2 separate regions of the Homo sapiens genome follow, and region 1 is linked to region 2. Evidence: promoter capture Hi-C in 16 types of primary human blood cells and fetal thymus (Javierre and others, 2016). All regions are on one chromosome and are shown on one strand. Each heading gives the region's core, a stretch centred on a gene start or on the middle of the fragment in contact. The rest is flanking DNA. Distances are from core to core; before and after follow the strand shown. Region 1 has its middle 15 kb from the start of POP5. Region 2 holds the start of ACADS (acyl-CoA dehydrogenase short chain).

Region 1 (6,821 bases), core at 2,413-4,912, 130 kb after region 2:
AAATAACTCCTGCTTCTGCAGGAGAAACTGGAACTAATCAAGGTGGGAATAATCCGAAAATCCCTCAGAGAGGGACTGCTAAGAGGCCTTGTGTTTCCAAGCAGGGATTAGAGGGGAAGAAAATAAACAAAAGATGGAGTTTGTCCTGGAAAACGGTGCCAACATGAAAGCAAGTTCTTCCTAGGGCCTTGGTCAGAGGGCCACCAGTAGCTAATATCCATTGAGCGCCTACTATTGTATGCCTGATGCATTCATATGGCTAAGCATGTGAGCTCTGAAGTCGGCCTGCCTGGATTGGAATTCCTGCTCTACTTCCTGCTAGCTGTGTGACCTCCGAAGAGTTATTTCCCCATTCTGAGCCTCAGTTTCCTTATCTGGAAAATGGGGATAAAATTCATACCTGCCCCGCAGGGTAGTTGAGGATAAGTGCTCGATACATGTGAACTTTTATTATAATAGAAATATTTCCAGGGGCTCATTTCCTGGGATTGCCGGTGGCTCATACCTGTAATCCCGGCACTTTGGGAGGCCGAGGTGAGTGGATCACCTGAGATCAGGAGTTGGAGACCAGCCTGGCCAACATGGCAAAACCCCATCTCTACTAAAAATACAAAAATCAGCCAGGTGTGGTCTCAGGTGCCGGTAGTCCCAGCTACTTGGGAGGCTGAGACATAAGAATTGCTTGTACCCGGGAGACGGAGGTTGCAGTGAGCTGAGATTCACTGTGACTCCAGCCTGGGTGACAGAGACTGTCTCAAGAAACAAAACAAAACAAAACAAAACAAATCTTTCCAGCAATGCTGGAGGAAGAGGGTTAGGTTTTGTCTCCTCTTTCTGCAGGGTAGTGAACCAAGGCTCAGAGAGCCCAAGGTCACATGGCTAATAAGTGAAAGTGTCAGGATGGTGACTCATGTGAGTCTAAGTCAGGAGCATGTGAATTCACTAGCCCGGGCCACCCTGCTCGCTCCTCAGTGGGCAGGGAGGAGGGCAGTGGCCCACAGGCAGGGCGCAGCCCCTCACCCACCGCCTCTCTCTGGGCCCCATGCTGGGAGCAGATACAGCATGCACGTGGGAAACAGTCTCCGGGTGAGACATGTACAGTGGAGAGGGACGAGCACTGCCCTTGAGCATGGAAACTTGGCTGAGTTCTTTCCTCTCTCTGGGCCTCAGTTTCCCCAGTTGCAGAACAAGTGGTGGTAACAGGTGACTCGAGTCCTGGAGAGTCTAGATTCTTGCTCCCTGGTTCTCTGGTGAGTATCCGGTGCAGGCAGCAGTGAAACGAGGACAAGAGAGGAACCTGGGCCACTGCCAGGTGATCTCCCCTTTGTCACTTCCCTCCCTTCTCCTGGTGAATAGTTCCAGGCAGAGGGAACAGCAAAAGCAAAGGTCGGGAAATGAGAGTGAGCATGGCACGTTTGGGGAGCTACAAGTAGAAGAATCCAGTCACCCGGTTTATTCATTTATTCAATTAGTTAATCAACATTTAGTAACCTGGTTTACTCATTTGATTATTCAACCAGCATTTATCACTGTGTGCCAGGCAGTGTTGGAGTACTGGGGATACAGCGGTGAACAAAACAGAAAAAACCACCATCTTCACGAGGCTCATTCTTTTTTCTTTCTTTTTCTTTTTTTTTTTTTTTTTGAGATGGGATCTCGCTGTCGCCCAGGCTGGAATGCAATGGTGCGATCTCGGCTCACTGCAGCCTCCACCTCCTGGGTTCAAGTGATTCTCCTGCATCAGCCTCCTGAGTAGCTGGATTCAGGTGTCTGCCACCATGCCCGGATAATTTTTTGTATTTTTAGTAGAGACAGCGTTTCACCGTGTTGACCAGGCTGGTCTCAAACTTCTGACCTCAAGTGATCCAACCACCTTGGCCTCCCAAAGTACTGGGATTACAAGCGTGAGCCACCCCACTCAGCCTCATGGGGCTCATTTTAATTGGGGGAGATGGAAAAACGAAGTAAACAAATCAATACCCAGAATCATTTCAGCATGGGATAAGCATTTACATGAATAAAAGCTAATACGTGTAAAGCATCTGCTATGGGTCAGGCATTGCCAACAGATGTTAAATAATTTGATCCTTGCTACCACACGATGAGGCTGTAATCACCACTCCCACCTTACAGCTGAGGAAATTGTGGCTTAACAGAGAAGTTAAGTAACCTGCCCAGTGCCACACAGCATTGGAGCAGGTGGAGCTGTGATTCAAATCCAGGCCATCTGGCACCACTGTGCTGGCTGGTGAGGAGAGCACTAAATAGGGCAACTTGTCCAGGGAATAGCCCTCTAAAGAGGTGACATTTGAGCCAGGACGCATGAGAAGGCTGAGGCTGCCATGCAAAATCCAGGAAGCAGAAGGTTCCAGATGGAGGGAACATTGAGTGCAAAGGCCCTGAGGCAAGTAGGGGCTTCACAGGTTGGGAGAAGAGCGAGGAGGTCAGTTTTAACTTGAGGAGAGGATAGAAGAGGTCAGAGCGTTGCGCGGGGCAGACACGTGGGGTTGGGGGGGAGCCTCCTCTGTCCTCCTGAAGGAGGCCCAGGAGACGTTCCCAGGAGCCTCCCGGCAGGTCTGAGGGATGCTTGGGAAGCAGGGCCTGAAGTCGTTCTGACAGGTGTGGCTCCCCTCCTCTCCCCTATCAAGTCGATGAGGCGTGGTCAAAGCTGATCTTCCCCGGGGCCCATTGCTGGGAAATGAGTGCAGCTGCAACCTGCCGTGTAGCCTCGGCCAGCACCACCCACAGGTGGCCCCCTCCCTGACTGATGGGGACATGGAAGGGCCCGTCTCATTCTTCCCTCTTCACCCTAAATCCACATCCTCCCTGGCCCTGTACCTCCCACAGAGCCACAAATGAGGGGCTCCCATTCTCCAGTGGAGGCTGGACCACCTAGCTCCTGCCCTCAGGGTGCCCCCCAGAGGTCTGAGTCCAGTCCCAGCTCAGTGAGGGAATGGGGTGTTCCCCAGCTTGGTCTCAGAGGGTCTGAGAGTCAAGAGTCTGGCCTTAGGGAGAAATCTTGGTGGGCTGGAAAGGGATCCACGTTCCTAGTCATATAGACCTAAATTAGAGTCCAGACTCTATCCCCATGTGGTTTTGGGAAAGTCGCTTCACCTAAGTCTCAGTTTCATCATCTGAAAAATGGGAATAATCACACTACCTACCTCATAGGGTCAATGTGAAAATTAAATATAACATGGCTGAGAGGGGGCTTTCTGGGGCTGGAAATGTTCTATATCTTTACCTGCAAGGTGATATATAAAATTCAATGAAATGTACATTGTAGGGTGGCTCATGCCTATAATCCCAGCACTTTGGGAGGCTGAGGCGGGTGGATGACTTGAGCACAGGAGTTCGAGACCAGCCTGGGCAACATGGCAAAACCCCATCTCTACTAAAAATACAAAAATTAGCCAGGCGTGGTGGCAGGTGCCTGTAATCCCAGCTACTCGGGAGGCTGAGGCAGGAGAATCGCTTGAGCCTGGGAGGCAGAGATTGCGGTGAGCCGAGATCATGCCACTGCCCTCCAGCCTGGGCAACTCTGTTGGAATCTCATTCTTGAGATTCCATCTCAAAAATAACACCACCACCACGGTAGATTTATGCATTTTACTGTATGTATGTTACAACTCAATTTTTTTTTTTTTTTGAGAACAGAGTCTTGCTCTTTCGCCCAGGCCAGACTGCAGTGGCACTATCTCGGCTCACTGCAAGCTCCGCCTCCCGGGTTCACACCATTCTTCTGCCTCAGCCTCCGGAGTAGCTGGGACTACAGGCACCCGCCACCGCACCCAGCTAATTTTTTGTATTTTTAGTAGAGACGGGGTTTCACTGTGTTAGCCAAGATGGTCTCGATCTCCTGACCTCGTGATCCGCCCGCCTCGGCCTCCCCAAATGCTGGGATTACAGGTGTGAGCCACTGCACCCGGCCATAACTCAATTTTTTTTTAAATGCAAAGTACCTGACCCATGGCTAGCATCACATAAATGTTAGGTAGTATTAGCATAAAGTGTTCCATAAATATTTATTGAATATATTTGTTAAATAAGCCCTTGTAAGTACCCTTCCATGTTTTGTTTATCATTTATTTGATTCCCAGGGCTCCTGGGGCCTGGATGCCTACAGGAGCTCAAACTCAATATGTCCGTGACTGATTTCCTTCACCTCATTCTTGCTTCTCCCCAGGCTTCTCTAACTGCCCAATGGCTCAACCCAGAAATGTGGATGATACCCTGCCTGCCTTTTTCTGTTCTTCTTCTCTCCAACCTCTTACAGCCAACTGATTACTAAAACTTCCTGTAGTAGACTCTCTCCAAAGACGGCCCCCAACCATTCCCCCGCCACCCTATAAGGGCATGCTGACCTCCCATCAAGAGGTAGAGATTGAGGCTGGGCACAGTGGTTCACGCCTGTAATCCCAGCACTTTGGGAGGCCAAGACGGGCAGATCACCTGAGGTTAGGAATTTGAGACCAGCCTGGCCAACATGGTGAAACCCCGTCTCTAGTAAAAGTACAAAAACTGCCCAGGCATGGTGGCACACACCTGTGGTCCCAGCTACTTGGGGGACTGAGGCACAAGAGTCACTTGTACCGGGAGGTGGAGACTGCAGTGAGTCAAGATTGTACCACTGCACTCCAGCCTGGGCGACAGAGTGAGACCCTGTCTCAAAAACAAACACACAACAACAAAAAATAGATCAATGACATAAAGGTAGGAGCTAATACCATAGAACAATTAAAAGAAACCATAAGGCCAGGTGTGGTGGCTCACGCCTGTAGTCCCAGCTACTCGGGAGGCTGAGGCAGGAGAATCACTTGAACCTGGGAAGTGGAGGTTGCCGTGAGCCGAGATCGTGTTATTGCACTTCAGCTTGGGCAATAAGAGTGAACTCCATCTCAGAAAAAATAAAATAAATAAAATAAAATAAACCACAGGGATAAATCTTCATGATCTAGGATTTAGCAACAGATTCTTCAATTTGACACTGAAATCACAAGAAACAAAAGAAAAAAGAGACAAACTGGATTTCATGAAAAGTAAAAACTTTTCTGCATCAAAGAACATTATCAAGAAAGTAAACAGGCAACCTGCAGAATGGGAGGCAATATTTGCACATCGTATATCTGATAAGAATTTAGTATCCAGAATATATAAAGAACTCAACAACAAAAAGACAAACAACCCTTCTAAAAAATGGGCCAAGTGAGCCAGATGCGGTGGCTCACGCCTGTAACCCCAGCACTTTGGGAGGCCGAGGTGGGCAGATCACGAGGTCAGGCGTTTGAGACCAGCCTGGCCAACATGGCGAAACCCTGTCTCTACTAAAAATACAAAAATTAGCCAGGCGTAGTGGTGGGTGCCTGTAATCCAAGCTACTCAGGAGACTGAGGCAGGAGAATCGCTTGAACCTGGGAGGCAGAGGATGCAATGAGCTGAGATCGTGCCACTGCACTCCAGCCTGGACAACAAGGACAAGACTCTGTCTCAACAACAACAAAAAAAAAATGAGCCAAGTAAGCGAACAGACATTTCTCCAAAGAAGATAAACAAATGGCCAGAAAGCATATGAAAAAGATGTTCAACATCATTGGCCATTAAGTAAATGTAAATCAAAACCACAATAAGATATCACCCACTAGGATGGCCTTAATTTTTAAAAAGGGGGCAGAGCTCTTCCTGTTCTCCATCATGGCACAGGATGAAGGTGAAAAGGAGAACCCCACGTGGGAACTTTGCATTCACAAGCTCTGCCTCGACATCTGTGTTGGGGAGAGTAGAGACTGATCCCTGCAGCCAAAGCATTGGAGCAGCTTGCAGCCCGGACCCTGTGTTTTCCAAAGCCAGATACACTGTCATATTGTTTGACATCCGGAAAAATGAAAAGCCGAAAATGCTGTCCGCTGCATAGTTCAAGAGGCCAAAGCAGAAGAAATCCTGGAGAAGGGTCTAGAGGTATGGGAGTATGAGTTGAGAAAAAATAACTTCTCAGATACTGGAAACTTTGATTTTGGGATCCAGGAACACATCAATCTGGGTATCAAATATGACCCAAGTGTGGGTGTCTATGGCCTGGACTTCTCTGCGGTGCTGAGTAGGCCGGGTTTCGGCATCACAGACAAGAAGCACAGGACAGGCTGCACTGGGGCCAAACACAGAATCAGCAAAGAGGAGACCATGCACTGGCTCCAACAGAAGTGTGATGGGATCATGCTTCCTTGCAAATAAATTCCCGTTTCTATCCAAAAAGCCAATAAACAGTTTTCAGGGAAATGTAAAACAAAATAAAATAAGAAGTGGGGAGAGAAATAACAAGTGCTGGCTGGGTGCGGTGGCTCGTGCCTGTAATCCCAGCACTTTGGGAGGCCGAGGCCGGCTAATCGCCTAAGGTCAGGAGTTCGAGACCATCCTGGCCAACATGGTGAAACCCCGTCTCTACTAAAAATATAAAAATTAGCCAGGCGTAGTGGCGCACGCCTGTAGTCTCAGCTACTGGGGAGGCTGAGGCTGGAGAATCGCTTGAACCTGGGAGGTGAAGGTTGCAGTGAACCAAGATCGTGCCACTGCACTCCAGCCTGGGCAACAGAGCAAGACTCCATCTCAAACAAACAGAAATAACGAGTGTTGGTAAGGATGTGGAAAAATAGACACTTCTGTTGTGTTAGTCCATCCAGGCAGCTATAACAAAGTACTGTAGACCGGATGGCTCATAAACAACAGAAATTCAGCCAGGCGCGGGGGCTAATGCCTGTAATCCCAGCACTTTGGGAGGCTGAGGAGGGTGGATCTTTTGAGGACAGGAGTTTGATACCAGCCTAGCC
Region 2 (6,947 bases), core at 1,226-3,725:
GGCACGGGAGGGAGCGCGCTGATGGGAAACTCAGGGGAGAAAACAGTTCAAGCAGGCCGGGCACGGTGGCTCACGCCTGTAATCCCAGCACTTTGGGACGCCAAGGCGGGCAGATCGCCTAAGGTCAGGAGTTTGAGACCAGCCTGCCCAACATGGAGAAACCCCATCTCTACTGAAAGTACAAAAACTAGCTGGGCGTGGTGGTGCCCGCCTGTAATCCCAGCTACTGGGGGCCGAGGCAGGAGAATTGCTTGAACCCAGGAGGCAGAGGGGTGCAGTGCGTTGAGATTGCGCCACTGCCCTCCAGCCTGGGCAACAGAGCGAGAGTCCATTTCAAAAAAAAATAAGTAAATAAAAAAGAAAATAGGTCGAGCAGGCTGCCGCTGATGAGCTCCATGACCTTGGGTATGTTATTTAACTTGTTCACAAGTCTGAGTCCATGGGGTATATAATAATACTACCTTTGGCCGGGCGTGGTGTCTCACACCTGTAATCCCAGCACTTTGGGAGGCCGAGGTGGGCAGATCACCTGAATTCAGGAGTTTGAGACCAGCCTGGCCAACATGGTGAAACGCCGTCTTTACTAAAAATACAAAAGTAGCGGGGCAGAGCAGTGCACGCCTATAATCCCAGCTACTTGGGAGGCTGAGGCAGGAGAATCACTTGAACTCAGGAGGCAGAGGCTGCAGTGAGGCGAGGTCGCACCATTGCACTCCAGCCTGAGCCACAAGAGTGAAACTCCGTCTCAAAAAAATAAATAAGAATAGTACCTTCACCTCACAGGACCGTTGTGAGGAACAGATGAGATAACCCATCTCAAGAACAGTGCCTAGTGCATGCCAAACACCCTAAAGGCACTATTTAGAATGAGCACAGTGGCTGGCACAGTAAGCAACTGACCATCCACCACATATTACTGTTGTCCCAGAAGTTAAGTCCTGGCTACTGGCCACAGGCTGGACAAGGGAAACTTCCAGAGCATTTTCTGGGTTCCAGGCCCTGCTTTGGGGTTCCTCTACCAGAGTCCGAGTGCCGCTGACTGTCACTGCCACCATTCATCCAGTAGCAGAGGGCAGACCACTATCGTGGGCTGCTGAGGTTGCACTCTCACCTGAGCCGCTGGGAAGAGATGTTCCTTATCCACCTGGGCTGCAATGGGAAACAACTCCTTCTCGGCAAAGTCCCGGCATGTCTGGAGCAACATCTGGTGTGTCTCGGGCAGTTCCACAGACTGGTAGATGGTGTGTAACTGCCGCCAGGCCCTAGGACAGAGAGCTGCCGGCAAGGGCAGAAGTGAGTGGAAGGAGGAGGCAGGAGGTCTCCAAGAATCCTAGTGACCCACTAACTCACCAGGGAGGATTTTGCCCTCCAAGGGACATCTGGCAATGTCTGGAGCCAGTTCTAGTTGTCACAACTAGAGCAGGGGAATACTATTGGTACCCAGTGGATAGGGGTCCGGGATCCCTGCTGAACATCCAACAAGGCAGAGGACAGCCCCCACAACAAAGAACTGTCAGCCCAAAATGTCCATGGCGGCCACTGAAAACCCCATACTAACTGAATGCTTAGTACACTCACTAGACATTTCCATACACTACATCCTTCAGTCCTCAGTATAATACCAACAGTAATAAGACCTCAGCTCTGTGACCTTAGGCAAGGGTTTTAAACGTCAGTGAGCCTCCGTTTCTATAACAAGTGGAGGCGAATAGTATTCCGCTCCTCGGAGTGCGAAAGAAAGACTAACTAGCGCTTAACACAGTTCTCAGTAGCGTTCCCCTTGTAATTCAGGCCAGGCAAAGGAAGCCGTGGCTATATGTGTCACGGCTGCTACAACTGGAGACACGTAAGATGGGAAAGGTACTGTATTAACCAGCAAGAACGAGCATTTGTGGAACACCTGTTACACGCCAGGCACGAAGTGCTTTACATACCCTATGATTTAATCCTCCCAACAACTCTGATTTTCTCTGTGGACATTTTACACATGGGCCAACCGAGGCTGAGGAGGGGCTGTCTTGCCCAAGGTCACAGATGCGGGTCTGGTTCAATCCCAGGCCTGGCTCCGGAAGAAGGACGCACCCTGAACCTCTAGTGGGGGTGAAATGAAGGGAGGGAGATATGGGAACTGGGAACTGGGCTGGTGGCTGGGGTCAATCGGGGGGTAGGGGTCTGTGCAGGAACCAGGGACGCCTGAAGGGCCGGGCTGGGTCGGCGCAAGGAGCAGCAGAACTGGGGCAAAGGCCGTGAGCGCTCCCGGAGTGGGGCTCCGCCTGCCAGCGGCTCTGACAGAGCCGGCCGCCAGGACCTCCGCCCGCTGGGCCAGACGCGGGCTGAAGCCCCGCCGTACGGATCCCCAGCGCACTCACCTCTGCGGGCAGGGCCCGAGGCCCGGGCGAGCAGCGCGGCGGCCATGGGCGACAGACACAGTCCCAGGCTTCGCGACCTCCCGCTGCGAGCGCGCTGTTCCGGAGTGCTGGGGGGCGGGACCCGGGACAGAGGCCACGCCCGTAGGGCCTCGGGAGCGGGGCCGAGGTGCGCTCGCGGCCAGGGGGCGGGGCCTCCAGTGGTCCCTCCCAAGGCGAGGAACCGACGCTCGACTGCGCGCGCGGTCGGTCAGCTGGCTGTTCGTGCCCACATTCGTTAATCAAAATGCTAACAAGAGAAAGCTAAGGATAGAGCTTCGCAGAAAGGCCAGAGAGGTCTTTTTAAAGCATAAATAAGATAGCGATCTTCGGGTTAAAACTTTGTTGGCTTTGTCGGCGGGCCCATCCCTCCTAAAATCCAATTCTATGGCTTAAAAAGCCAAGACCTGCCTTGTCTATCAGGGCCCATGCCCACCGTTCCCTGGTTATTGTTGCTTAGCTTTACGAGGCAGCTCTTCTCTAAGACCCTTAGCTGGTTCCTGACTCGGGGCCTCTGTGATCACTGTTCCTTTTGTCTGGAATGCCCCCTCTTCGTTTAGGTCTCATGGATGCCTGCCCTGACCACACCAAGCCGTTTCTCCCCCTCTGGCTCTCTATCTTTCGTTCTGTTTATTCAAGGCACTTTGCATCTGAAATTATCTGCTTCCCCGACTCGCTCCGAGAAGCTCAAGGACCTGTCTTGTGTTGGTGCTCAATATTTAGGCCCCTGGAGTTGGGCTGCAAGGAAAGCTTTCTTTTCCCCAGAGGCTGTGAAGGTGGGTGGAGATGCTACCCCCGTTCCACTTCAGTACTGTGTCTCATTCCCGATTGGGGCAGAACCCAGACACATATTTGACCCCTAGCATCCTCATCAGGACACCTTTGCCCCGCCCAAGAAACTATGCTGATTTTACTTGTCCCATAAGGGTCTTCTCTTGTGCAAGTGTGATTCTGATTCCCATAGCCTCCTGGGCACCACCCACGCCCTCCCAGGCACCCACACATCCCTCCAACTGCCTTTCTTTCCCAGCACTCAGCCAGGCAGGCATCTGTTCCCAGCATTGACCTATTTGCCAAAACTTCTGTCTCTTCCTCTTGGAGGAAAGTGGAAACCTCGGTCACTACTTCCTAGAAGAAAGCCAATCAAAAGATGCAGCAAAGTCCTTAATGTGTTACCTTTCTTTTTAAATAATGCATTTAAAAGAACGCCTCTAAATTCTCAGTACTTTAAAGTCAAATGAATGGCTCCCATTGGCAAATGCTCTAAGGGCTTCCTCACCTTTCCGTCATCCCACCTGGGAACCAGCCCTGGGTGGAAGAAACGATGAAGAAGCAGGAGAAAAGGGAGAAATAAGTGAGTTGTGTTTGTGAGCAAAGGCCAATAATTGCTTCAGGTGCCACAGAGCATCTAAACCAGACTCTTGAGAATTTGTGACTGTAAATATGAACGTTCAAATTTCATTTTAAAAGTATCCAAGTTTTCCAATAGAGACAGAATCAGATAGTGGTTGCAAGAGGCGAAGTGGGGGAAGTCACCTGGCTGCAAACACAAGGAACTCAGGAACTTTCTGAGTGGGTACGATGGAAATGTCCTATATCATGATTGTGATGGGTAATAAAAGTATTCATTTGTCAAAATGCATCAATACTCTTAATTGAGGTAAATTTTACTGTAGTTAAAGTATTTCTTAATAAGCCTACCTTTATGGCCAGCCACAGTGGCTCACACCTGTAATCCCAGAACTTTGGGAGGCCAAGGCGGGTTGATCACCTGAGGTCAGGAGTTCAAGACCAGCCTGGCCAACATGGGGAAACCCTGTCTCTACCAAAAATACAGAATTAGCCGGGCGTGGTGGCATGCACTTGTAATCCCAGCTACTTGGGAGGCTGAGGCAGGACAATCACTTGAACCCGGGAGGCGAAGGGTGCAGTGAGCCACCATCATGCCATCACATCCCAGCCTGGGAAAAAAGAGCGAAACTCCATCTCAAAAAAAAAAACCCTACCTTTAAAACATGCATGTAAACTTTCAATTTACAAAGCCACTCACCCTGGGAAAATATAAAGCAAAAATATTAAGCCTAAAGTCCAGTACAATTCCTCAATCACCCTAGAAGCCAGCTATACTCTAGTTCAACTACTTACAGAAGGGCCACATAATAGCCAAAGTAAGAGAAACCTGGAGCCCCCATTCGCCCCTGCTCCCCTCAGCAACACAACGGGCCCAACAATCAGGAGACAGGACGAGGGAGACGTACTGTGAAAATCTTTCTTTTATTACTGTCTCATGTGGCAAAATAACATTTTATACAAATAAGTCACCTAGTTTACTTTGGACACAAAGACAATAAAAACTGGAATGTGATTTTGGGGGAAGCGGGAAGGAGGAGGAAGGACAGATCAGGTCATTGATGTTTCTTATATTCTGTAAAAAATAGATTTACAGGAAAAAAAATAGACTTTCACAACTTCAATGACTTTACACGGTCCTTTGTAAAACCAGTGGTAAATCCACCTCCACCAAATCCTTCTTGAGGCTGATATGTTCTGTGACATGGAATGTGAGTAACACAATGGTTCAATGATTAGGCTCCTACACCAGGTACAGCAGCACCTGATGCCACAGGAATCCTCGTGCACTGGGGTGAGGAGTCAGTCCTGTGAATTTCAGGACACACTGTCCTCATCCCCAGACCTCACTGACATCATAGTGACACTGGCCATCAGAAGAAAGTGACTTTACAGAGGGGAAAAGAGTATCCTGGAAGCGTACCGGTGGGGCAGGACACACTAAGGCAGGACTCACCCAGTTTGTACATTAGACACAGCCTATTAAATCCATTCCAGAAATGAGTTCCACTTCAACTGAAAAAATAAACTGAAGATTGCCCAATCACTGCCATTTCACAAATTTCCAGTTTATGGTCAGCCCCAAAATCACATTCTTCCACCCTATGTATTGGAAATCAAATGGCCCAAAGACTGAGGTGTCTTCAGGAAGCACATGCTTGAAAAATGTTTTCTCTGCAAAACAGTATTGAGTAATACATAAGGAGACATAGCCTACTTTAGCCCAAAACTTCTTTCACTTGTTATGTCCTTTTACCTCTTAAAACATAGAATGAAATAAACTCGGATCTTCTTTGGAGAAGCTAGAAGGGCATTTTGGCCCAAAGGCTGTACAGGAAAAGAGAGGCTCTCTCCAGGAGACTGCAAGGCAAAGGAACAGAAGCAGGAGGGGCAGGCCCTCTGGCACCAGGTGGGCCTGCTACTCTGATGAAATGTGCTCCCAGCTCTTGACAAAGGGCAGGGTCTCCTATGCAGGTAGTTTTTTTGCCGCCTCCCATTGTATCACCCACAAGGTAACTGCTATCAACAGTTCAGATTCCTTAATAACATGGCAGCCTGAATGGTTCTGTTACTTTCAGAGAAAGTATGCCTTGCAATTCTCTCCCCAACTCAGGTACAAACGCTTGAATTTCAAACTCATACTGGTTTACACCCCAGAGTGGAATGCTTCTCAAGATTTCCTGAGCAGCTAGACACAGGAACCCACAGCCCCAGATACAGAACACCAGACTTTCAGAAGCAGCAAAGCCCTGTCCTGCTGGGCATGGACCAAGCACTATCCGCAAATGGTCTCCAGTGAGACTAAGGCAAGCTAACAAGGAAGAGGATACAGCACAACTCAAGCCAGATTGCCCACCTCCTCCTTCCTCCACATCCTCTTTCTAGCAAAAGCGAACACTGCAGATAAGAGATAGCCCACTAATGTAGCAGATACAGTGTGCCCAGGGGCATGTTTCCAAGACACACTCTACTAAGCACAGCTCTGGGCAGCTCCAGAACCACATCCCAGATAATACTCAAATATCAAATAGTAGAAACTGTCCCACCTGGGCCTCTGTCAAAGAGAGAAGGGATTGTTGTTACGCTTGACAGGAACATGCAAATCCCATTTGAGGAGCCACAATGAGAAACAGAAGGTGAGGAGACAGTGCTAACAGCCCTGGCATCTTTCTGCCAGTGAGGAGGTGGGAACAATGGCAATGCAGCTTTCCCCTGCAGCATAAGGGACAGAGCCACACGTAAGGCACCTGGATTTACAGTGGACGCCAGTTCTGAGAGTGGCCGGTCTGGTGATAAGGAACCCACTCCACAGGAGGAATGGTCTCTCCCCTCTCTCGGGGCTGAATCCAAGGCCAGCACACAGGGGTAAGCTAGGACCTTCTCAGTGAGAAAGCTGCCAGCATGTGGCATTGCCAAGACTCTGGCCTGGGACAAAGCACTGGGCCAAGGTTCGGGGCCACTCGCCCTAAAGCCCACACAGGGAGCAGCACTGGTGGTGGATGGACAGGAATTTCTGTGGCCACACACTGTCTCTTCCATCCCTGGCCCCCATACGGCCTTTCTCCCAAGCACATCAGGACACTCTCCTGTCACAGGTACTGTGACACCTCACAGTCACTTACCAGATACCTGGGCCTTTCCTAGTGACATCCTTCTACTGATGCTAACTGGACCCTGGCCACATCAATCGTC

Evidence for each region. The method cuts DNA at HindIII sites, captures the fragments that hold promoters and counts their contacts. A CHiCAGO score of 5 or more calls a contact.
Region 1: a fragment that was not itself captured here is called in contact with the fragment with the promoter of ACADS in region 2 in 2 of 17 cell types (M0 macrophages and endothelial precursors); the score reaches 6.5 in M0 macrophages.

The regions. Positions count from the first base shown.
Region 1 is chr12:120,593,419-120,600,239 of GRCh38, reverse strand. It overlaps the pseudogene RPL11P5. Among named protein-coding and RNA genes, the nearest start is that of POP5, 15 kb to the right of the region's middle. RefSeq lists an enhancer at 2,685-3,185. The HindIII fragment of the contact is 9,227 bases long and covers 1-6,821 here.
Region 2 is chr12:120,721,354-120,728,300 of GRCh38, reverse strand. It overlaps ACADS (acyl-CoA dehydrogenase short chain), which reads right to left and starts at 2,475. Exons shown (of 10, transcript NM_000017.4): 1 at 2,370-2,475; 2 at 1,112-1,275. The coding sequence starts at 2,415. UNC119B (unc-119 lipid binding chaperone B) reads right to left here. Exons shown (of 5, transcript NM_001080533.3): 5 at 4,661-6,947. MIR4700 (microRNA 4700) reads right to left here and starts at 5,108; the gene lies at 5,035-5,108. RefSeq lists a silencer at 2,156-2,665 and an enhancer at 2,302-2,803. The HindIII fragment of the contact is 22,347 bases long and covers 1-3,157 here.